2 separate regions of the Homo sapiens genome follow, and region 2 is linked to region 1. Evidence: promoter capture Hi-C in 16 types of primary human blood cells and fetal thymus (Javierre and others, 2016). All regions are on one chromosome and are shown on one strand. Each heading gives the region's core, a stretch centred on a gene start or on the middle of the fragment in contact. The rest is flanking DNA. Distances are from core to core; before and after follow the strand shown.

Region 1 (4,844 bases), core at 1,090-3,589:
TGAGGCTTGGTTCCCGGGCCAGAGGCTGGTACCTGACTCTGGGGTAAAGAGGAGAGCCGGGGCTGTCTGCGGGGCCTCAGGGCTCGGCGATGGCTGAACCCCACAGTGAGAGCCCTCGTGCCCCAGGTTTTCCATCGTCTTCCTCTCACCTTTGGGGCGCTCCAGATAAGAAGTGGCGTTTCTCAGGGAGGCGCCCCCACCTCAGCTCCTCCTGTCTCAGGCCCCACTTGGTGGGGAGCCGCCGCAGGCGGGGAGCCCGGGCTTGCCCCTGCGGGCAGTCACCGCTGCCCTGTGCCCCGAAACCACCCTCCCCGCCCCCCAGTGACCTCCCACCTCCGGGGTTCCTCTCCGCCTTGCTGCCTGCTTTGGCTTTAGAAGGGAGCTCAAGCTCAGCGGCTTTTGGGGCAGCCACGTTAGGTGCTGGGGAATGGAAGAGGATGACACTGCCTATTTTGACTCAGATCTTCAAGGATGAGCACACCCTCCCCTGGTAGCAACTTCTGCACCCGCCGGCCACCCCGTAGGGCCCTGCCCCGCACCGCACCCGGTGGCCTCCCCGGAGGGCCGTGACCCAAGCACCGCACCCGGCGGCTTCCCCAGGTGCTGCTCCGCCCAGTGCCCCCCCAGATCTCAACGTGGTGCCACAATGCCGCCCTCTCGCACATCGTGTCCTTGGACTATGTCTTCCTTTGAAAGGTCAGTTGCCAGGGGCCCTCACGACTCCTTGGGTGTGCTTTGGGCCGGCATGTATGTCCTCTTGCCCTTCTCTTACACAGAAGAGTGGGGAGGGTGTCCTAAGAATTTGGCTTGTCCTAAGGAAAATAAAGTTGTAATTTCAAGGCACTGACCAAGGTCTCTGTACTACTCAAGAGCTCAAGAGTGGCCACGGGGGAAGATAGCCCTGGGTGTAAAAGGGCCGCAGAAGGGAATCCCCTGTGCTCTGCATTAAAAAACCCCCAGGGGACAGGAGGCTGAAGAAAGGGAACCTACCACTTCTCCATAAAATAGTGTCAGTGAGCTGTCCAGGAGGGCAGGGGATCTGCCGATAAGAGAGCATTTAGGAAAATATGCCGACTCCTTAAATTGGGTTTCGATTTTTCAGCTTTTGAAAATATTGGTTTTCTTTAGGACAGGTTTCTGTACTTGCCAACAGTTGCCAGTTATCCACCAGCAGACTGCAGGAAGAAGAGACAATCTTCACCTCCCTCCTGGGTAGGGAGAGCTGAGAATTCACTAGGCTTAGCCTAACAAAGCCCGCAGTGGACGTTTCTGCTGTACCTGTCCAAGGCGTGATAGTTCCCCAGACTTTGGGGAATATCACCGTGGGTTATTTTGTCTAGTTAAGTCCCTGTGGTGGGATAAGGATGGCTCCTAGAGCATGTCGGCATCAGTAGTTCCTGGAGTGGATTTTCCTACACCGTCTAGGTATGAAAATTTGGTGGGAGAAAAGACCCCAGGAAAGGGGAAAGCAGGAAAGTGGAGCTAAGGGATGCTGCTATAACACTCATCCTGTTGTATCTGTTCTGTTTCCCTGAACTTTGAAGATAGTTATGCTGAGTACCCCCTTTAAAATGATTTTCTTCTACACTGTACCTTCCCATGGTCATGTTCTTGGTGGGGTGTGTTTCACATGTCCAGCCCTGTGGGGTTGGGGGGACACTAGAAGAGGTAGTGGGAAGCCAGACTTTCCCACATCATTCCACCGAGGCCACGGAGGCAGGAGGAACCGAGCCTTCCCTGTGCTCGGCACTGTGTTTTTCTTCATCATGTCACTTTTTACATTAACGTGTATTTTTGCTTGCTTCCAGAAAAGCACCTACATCAGCTATGCTGTAATCCTTGCTTTTCTCACCCAATAACTGGGAATCCCCAGAGAGCCAAAACTATCTTTTTAATCTCTTATTTCTTCATCACCTAGTACCATTTGGTGCTCAATCAACGTTTACTGAGCGGAAGAAAACGGAAATAAGACATTTTCCTCAAGGAGCAGAAATCATTACACGTATTTGGTCCAAACAAATAAAAATAAAGAGAACCAATGAAGACTGAAGTAAACCACATCACGATTACATAAATGTAAAGATCTGGTTGCTTGTGTCCTTTTTATAATACATACTATGATCTTTGCCAATTAACACTGGAGGACTCTTTCTGGTCGATAAAATGTTTGGATAATTAAGTATGCTTTCATTTTATGTCCCGGTATCAAAGATGTCCATTTATTCAAAACAAAGGGAGTGAACATAAAACATAAAAAGAAAAAAAAAAAGGCCTGTGGCTCCTCCTCCCAGACACCCCCCTCCAACAGTGATGAATAGGAGGGACTGTCTCCCTCCCCCATCCCTCGGAGACTAGCCTTGCAGTGTTTTAGACTGTTTTGAAATTCTGTTCTTTAGAAGAGATTTTTTTTTTCTTCTTAATATCAAACAAAGAACTGCTGCTATTCCTTTGGGCTGGCGCAGCAGGGGCCGGTGAAATGCAGGCTGACGACGGCGCGCCAGGGGCTGAGCTCGCCCCGGTCGGCGACGCGCACACACCTTGAGTGACAGCGACCTCTTCTCTACAGGTTTTCCCCGCGGGAGCGTGGCCCTAGCGGGCGTTCGGTTTTCTTTGGAAATCGCGGAGGGGGCTGGCCGGGCGCAGCGATCCCCACCCCGGGACTCCAGCCCCGGCCGTGCGCGTCGCCGCGGACGGGCTCTGCGGGCCACGGGGAAGGTGCGAGGAGGCGCGAGCAGGCTGTGAGCCGCTGGGCGCTCCCGCGAGCCCGCTCCTCTCCGTCGGGAGCAGGGCAAAGGCGCCAGGAACAGGGCAGAGGCACAGCGCCCACCGCCTCTGCGGCCGCCTGATGTGCGAGCAGCCCGCGACGAGGCAGTGCACGCTCAGACGCCCCGCTCCTCCCGCCAGCGCGCGGCCTCGCTCCTCCTAGAGGACGCTCTCTGCGCGGGCCCTCGGAGGAGGCGGCGGCGGGGCGAGCTGCAGCGCCGGGACAGGAGGTTTGTCCCCGCCCGCGCGCCGTACCGCGGCGGAGATGGGCGAGACCATGTCAAAGAGGCTGAAGCTCCACCTGGGAGGGGAGGCAGAAATGGAGGAACGGGCGTTCGTCAACCCCTTCCCGGACTACGAGGCCGCCGCCGGGGCGCTGCTCGCCTCCGGAGCGGCCGAAGAGACAGGCTGTGTTCGTCCCCCGGCGACCACGGATGAGCCCGGCCTCCCTTTTCATCAGGACGGGAAGGTGAGTCGGCGGCCTGGCCGCAGAGGCGCCGGAGGGGGAGCGCGGCGGTGGTAGCGTCCACCTTCCGCCAGGCGTGACGTCACAGGCGCGCGCCGGGCTTGGGAGGGCGCGGGATGATAGCGCCTAGCACCTGTCTCCGGGCCTTCCCGATGAGCCGCGCTTAGGGTCCGTGGGCTTCAGCTGCATGAACCACGTTCCAGCAGTTCGGCCCTCCTGGCCCCAACGCGCCTTTGAAATACGCGGACAGTGCGCTTTCCTTCTTGGCCCGAGCGGCGCTTCGCAATGCGGGCTTGTGCACTCGTGAGGCCCGCGGACACCTCCCGCCCCTGCGCGGCGGAGCGCTCCGCCGGCTACCTGCTCCTCAGAAGTGGCCTGGAGGCTGGATTTCCTTGGCCATATCTGGTCCCTGGGCTCTCGCCGACAAAGAAGCATTGTCCGTACTGTCTGTGTGCCCAGAAATGGGAAGCGGGTGTAAGGGGAGGCCAAACTTGACTTTCTTAGTGTCGCGAGGTGGGTCAGAGCGTTACATTGACATAAAACAGATTAACAACAGAAAAACATACATCTCTTGAATATGTTTTACGTGAAAAAGACACAAAGAAATGGCAAAACCCAAATACTTTTGTGCTAGGCAGAACCAAGAGCGGCAGCTGTGGGAGAGTAAAGTGTGCGGGGAGGCTAATGGAAGATGGAACTGCTTGAACCACGTCTAGGTAGAAATCTCCGCCTTGCTCGGCTCTGGTGCCGAGTGTTTCTTTGTTCCTGGTGTAGGGAGGCCATGTTTTACAGGAGTTTTCTCTTGTTTCATGAAGAAAAGGGGGCAGTTTAGAGCACTCTTCTGTTTTTCAAGTGCTTTTAGCTTAAAATAATCCTTATGCCAGAGACATATTTTTGGGATGGCATACCCTGTCACCCTTCACGGGCTATCTGAACAGAATCTAACGTGGGAGGCAAAAAGTGGGAATAAAACAGAAGATTGAATATCAGCACAACTGTTTTCATGCTTGGTAAAACCGTACCTTTACCAGGTTTTCTTTTTCCACTGAGGTACGTGTTCCAATGGCCACTTCACCTCCTTGGATCTCCATGTATTTCATATTTGGCTAAAACTAAGAAGGTAATTTTGAAAGAGCCATTGGTCTGAATATGGAATCTAAGGCAAGTGACTTCTGTAAACCTCTCTCTTCTTGAATGTGGTTAAAAACTCGAAACAGGCCGGGCGCGGTGGCTCACGCCAGTAATCCCAGCACTTTGGGAGGCCGAAGCGGGCTGATTGCTTGAGCCCAGCAGTTCGAGACCAGCCTGGCCAACATGGCAAAACACCGTCTCTACAAAAGAAAAATACAAAAATTAGCCGAGCGTGGTGGTGGACGCCTGTTCAGCTACTCAGGAGGCCGAGGTATGAGAATCGCTTGAGCCTCGGAGGTCGAGGTTGCAGTGAGTGGAGATTGCGCCATTGCACTCCAGCCTGGGCGACAGAGCTAGACGCAGTCTCAAAAACCAAAAGCAAGCAAACCTGTGGGAACAAGTCCTAACTGATGGGGATGTGTCTGAATTAGATGAAGCATATAAATTGCCTAGCAAACTGCCTGATGTGGTACCTTAAGAAAGG
Region 2 (4,844 bases), core at 1,742-4,241, 620 kb after region 1:
GGAGTGCATGCTGTTGTCATGGAAAGCAGGCATTCTTTGGTAGCCCAGGTTCTGGAACGGTGCCTAGAATAGCTGCTCACTGTGTTTGCCAGATTAACTGATGGATATATGAAAACAGTATACTGCGTGACAACACCTTTGTTATTCCATAGGACATGGACATCTTCCAGCAACAGATCTCGAGAAGACAGCTGGCTAAAATCCTTATTTGTCCGGAAAGTTGATCCAAGAAAAGATGCCCACTCCAATCTCCTAGCCAAAAAGGAAACAAGCAATCTATACAAATTACAGTGTGAGTGACAGGTTTGCTATCTTCATAGTTGACTTTTTTTCCCCTTTGTTCCTAAGTTTATCGTTGAATTTTCTTTTGTTTCAGTTCACAATGTTAAACCGGAATGCCTAGAAGCATACAACAAAATTTGGTGTGTATACCAAACTATCCTTTACTTGGGGAAAAATAATGACTTTATTTGTTAGTTAATTCCACTAACACTTGATAGCATAGAGAGAGATCTTTCATCCCTCTCTTTTGAAGCTGAACATTCAGAGGCTCTTAAACTGAGCTTCATGTGGGATTGCCGAAGGCGTTTTGATTTTAAGCACTCACACAGCTAAATCATCATATAGGCTATCAGACTTTAGAATGTTACCAGACTCTTGTGTTTGGAGGAACTTTGCCAGGCTGTCTAGTCCATCTACTTATCCAGTGCTGGAGTCCTTTCCACAGACCTTCCTGACTGCCTGTCCTGAAGTAAGTTCCATCTCTGGACAGCTCTGAGTGTTAGGAATAAGAATTCACATCTCTGAGTCCTTCATTGATTCCCCTAAGTAAAACTGCCCTGTGAGAGTCCTGTATGTATTTGAACATAGCTGCCATTTCTTCCCAACTCCTCTGTTCTCCAGGATCCAAGTCCCTTCCGCTGATTCTCCTATGATTTGCGATCTAAACCTGCTTACAGAATTTGTAAACTTTAAGACGAAAGGGGAGAACTAAGCTTACCAGCTTTTAAGTTAACAGAAATAGTATTTTAATGACCCATGGTGAGCAAATGTGAAGAAAAAGGTTTTTAGTTTTGTTTTGTTTTTACCTTTAATATCTACTACGTTCTTAAGAAAGCAAACAATTTTGTCCCTATAATCAGCATACTTTTTAGAAGAAAAACCTTTTGTTTTTTATTGTTTTGTTTTTGAAGATAGCTTATGAAATGTAACAATAGCATTGAATTTCTTGCTCATTCCAGCACATTTCTCTTTATTAAAAAATGCCCTTAAAACAAAGCAGATGTTTATTTCTAAGTCTTTTCTCATAAAAATGGAATTTTTCCCTATGCCGATGTTGTCCTGGATTACCTTTTTTGTCCTGTCTTATCACTTCGTCTCCTGTCTCGGGTTTCTGGCTGTCTGTTCCTATTTCTATTTGATGTTGTGCTCTCACTTCACACCCAGCATGTAGAATCACCTTGCTCTTCCAACTTCCCTGTCTGTGCCACTCACCTTGTTTTACTCAGCCCGTTCCTTAGTTCTCTGTGGTGAATCTGTCACCTAAGCTGTGCATTCTTCATCGGACATGTATTTTGGTTCTCTTGTTTCCTTCTCCATCTCTCTCTCCAAGCCTCTCGAGCCCCATTCCCAAGTAGCTTTTTTTCTGACTACCTTTCTGGGCTCCAAGCTATACCTGTGTCTCCTTCCTGCCCTGCAATACATTACCCCAAAGTTTGTCAGATTGATCTGCTTGAGTTCTGTTTTCTTTTTTCATCACGTTTTTTCTTTTCTCTGAAACTTTCAGCAGCTCCCTGTTTGCAGAACATAAAGACTTAACTCCTGCCTGGTTTTTAGGGGTCCCAATAATGGGATTCTGCCCAACCCATCCAGTTCTGGGTACAAGTACTGCCTGCCTTACAATCTCCATTCAGGTAAGGCCAGGGCTCCTAAGAGCAGGTTTGGGGTCCCCAGCAAAGAGGAGTGGCTACAAATCCATGCGTGACTTTGTGTTGGTGAAAAACCTGGGCCCCGTTGCCAGGCCCCTTTCTGGACCCCACCTGAATCATGTGTACTGGGCTTCCTCCTGGGCACTGCCTCCAATGCAGGGTTGTCTATTCCTGCTCATGTCATGCGACGAAAAGGAAATGTTGGACATACATTTCCCTAGCAGAATCCCTCTTTCCCTGTCCTCGATTTTCATTGATCCCATGTTATTTCTGAACATTCATGAGTCACGCATCAGATACATTTAATATCAGATCCTAATTTAAAAAGTAAATGCTACTCTTCCAAAAGTACACATGATGTGGTCACTATACTGGGTCATAAAGATGTATGGGTTTTCAGTTAGTTAGACTTAGACCGTTTTGGAACTTTTCTCTGTTAACCATTTATGTATCCCTGGTCGTATGGAGCTCCAGTGGTGCAGTCGGTTAGCACATGGTACTTACATACCCTTGGTCCTGTAGCCCCAGCATCTGGTGGTGATCACTAGCTAAATATCAGAGTCAGCAAATAGTGTGAACAGGTTCCATTTCTTGCCCTTGATCCCCTTTTGCATCCATTGTTGAATCTGTATGATACTTTTTCATCATAATTTTTCTATTCAAAAAGTGTGCAGGTTTTAGCTTTTCTCTTGGTGTAAAACAGTTACACTCTTCCCTTTGCCTTTCCCTGTACATTAGAATCTATACCATAGGAAAGCTTCCATGGAACCAAGCTCCACTCTGACACCCCTGTTAAATTCATACACTGCCGTGACCTGTCATGGCTTTGTCCCTGTCCCTGCACAATGCGCGGGAATGAATTGGTTGGTGTGTTCGGTGCGAGACTACGTGACACCCCTCCCATCCCCTTGGCCCATTGAATTGAGTAGAACATAATTTATGCTTCGCATTGTATCTTTAATTTTTATTCTTCTGCCATGTTGATGCCCTTGGGGAGTATTGGAGGTTGGAGTCGCTTCCAGACTATGTTGTGTTCCAGCTGTCTTCTTGCTCCTTCCTGAAGGCCAGCTTGTTCTCTGCTCCTGTTACCTCTGCCTGCTGGTACTGCTTGTGTTGTCTGCCTCTGTCTTGAACATTACTTTCCTCCCTTTCCATCTTCCTTATTTCTTCTGTGTTCTTTTCTACTATTCCCCGTCTCTCATTCTTCTGTCTTTGGAACCAACAGAATGTTTTTTGGTGATGTCGTTTTTTTTCCCCTCAAATGGAAAATAGTAGACCCATAGCTCCCAAAATCCTGGGACCTTTGGTTTTTCTTTATCATCATTATACTGATTGAACAACTCTTCTAGATAGTTGGGGTATCAGAAACCTAAGCTTCTGATCAGCAGGGTGTTGGAATACAACATAATTCAGCTAAAAGGTTAACTCCACATGCCGTTTTATCATGATGTTCTAAGGTCAGTTGTTAGAACACAGAGTAGGTGGTCTTTTTCCTGTTACTGATCAGGTGCTGTCCACCTGGTCAAATTTTGCTGGTTGTTTAATTAGTGTTGCTGTTTCTTCTCTTTAAGTCAAGAGGTGTTGCCAAAGATTCACGAAGATAAACACTACCCTTGTACTTTGGTGGGGACTTGGAACACGTGGTATGGCGAGCAGGACCAAGCTGGTAGGAAGCGAAGTCTTTGGAATAAACACTTCTTCCTTAAGCCTTATGTAACACTTAAGTAATTTTCTAATTTAATGCTTGTTCTTATCATCAAAGCTTTCCAAGTCTCAGTCTAATTTTATGATTAAAGTAGTTTCTTCAACAATTCATTGCGAAAATGGTTTTAAAATTGTTTTTAATGTTTGAATCTATTATTGAACCATTATGATGTAACTCATAGGCCAAAACATGGGGCATTACAGTTTTTTTGTTTTTTGAGACAGAGTCTTGCTCTGTTGCCCAGGCTGGAGTGCAGTGATGAGTATCTAGGCTCACTGCGACCTCTGCCTCCCGGGTTTAAGCGATTCTTCTGCTTTAGCCTCCCAAGTAGCTGGAAATACAGGTGCCCACCACCACACCCAGGTAATTTTTGTATTTTTAGTAGAGACAGGGTTTCACCATGTTGGCCAGGCTGGTCTGGAACTCCTGACCTCAAGTGATCCGCCTGTCTCAGCCTCCCAAAGTGCTGGGATTACAGGCATGAGCCACCACACACCCAGCCTACAGTTTTGTGCTGTGTTAACGTTATACCTATCTAGAACATTTTCAAGTAGTAGTATCATGAAATTCTAAACGTATACTGTCTTTTAAAATGCATTTCAGTCCACCTCTGGAGGTATGAAGGAGGCTATCCAGCCCTCACAGAAGTCATGAATAAACTCAGAGAAAATAAGGTAATGATATTGAAAAATGTTTACTTAGACTAATGATATATAGATGTTAGTACAGAATTAAATGACTTTTCTGTCTTCAGTTTTTGTTAATAAACTTCATTTTTTTGTAACAGAAATTTTATTGTTTGGACTCCTGAAGTTGTATTTAAACATAAACAGTTGTAATACTATTCAAACAACAATTCTGACCGGGCGCGGTGGCTCACGCCTGTAATCCCAGCACTTTGGGAGGCCAAGGCAGGCGGATCACAAGGTCAGGAGATTGAGACCATCCTGGCTTACACAGTGAAACACTGTCTCTACTAAAAAAAATACAAAAAAATTAGCCGGGCTTGGTGGCAGGCACCTGTAGTCCCAGCTACTCGGGAGGCTGAAGCAGGAGAATGGCGTGAACCCGGGAGGTGGAGCTTGCAGTGAGCTGAGATTGCGCCACTGTACTCCAGCCTGGGCGACAGAGCAAGACTCTGTCTCAAAAAAAAAAAAAAAATTCTTATTGTTCTTATTATAAAAGTCAATTATGCTTTGAAACTGATAAGG

What was found. The method cuts DNA at HindIII sites, captures the fragments that hold promoters and counts their contacts. A CHiCAGO score of 5 or more calls a contact.
Region 2: a fragment that was not itself captured here is called in contact with the fragment with the promoter of LANCL2 in region 1 in 1 of 17 cell types (naive CD4 T cells); the score reaches 5.0 in naive CD4 T cells.

The regions. Positions count from the first base shown.
Region 1 is chr7:55,362,998-55,367,841 of GRCh38, forward strand. LANCL2 (LanC like glutathione S-transferase 2) reads left to right here and starts at 2,340. Exons shown (of 9, transcript NM_018697.4): 1 at 2,340-3,232. The coding sequence starts at 3,029. RefSeq lists enhancers at 2,265-2,454, 3,075-3,534, 3,565-3,804 and a silencer at 2,525-2,944. The HindIII fragment of the contact is 19,398 bases long and covers 1-4,844 here.
Region 2 is chr7:55,977,974-55,982,817 of GRCh38, forward strand. NIPSNAP2 (nipsnap homolog 2) reads left to right here. Exons shown (of 10, transcript NM_001483.3): 2 at 153-292; 3 at 377-422; 4 at 3,500-3,594; 5 at 4,237-4,307. Among named protein-coding and RNA genes, the nearest start is that of NIPSNAP2, 16 kb to the left of the region's middle. The HindIII fragment of the contact is 617 bases long and covers 2,684-3,300 here.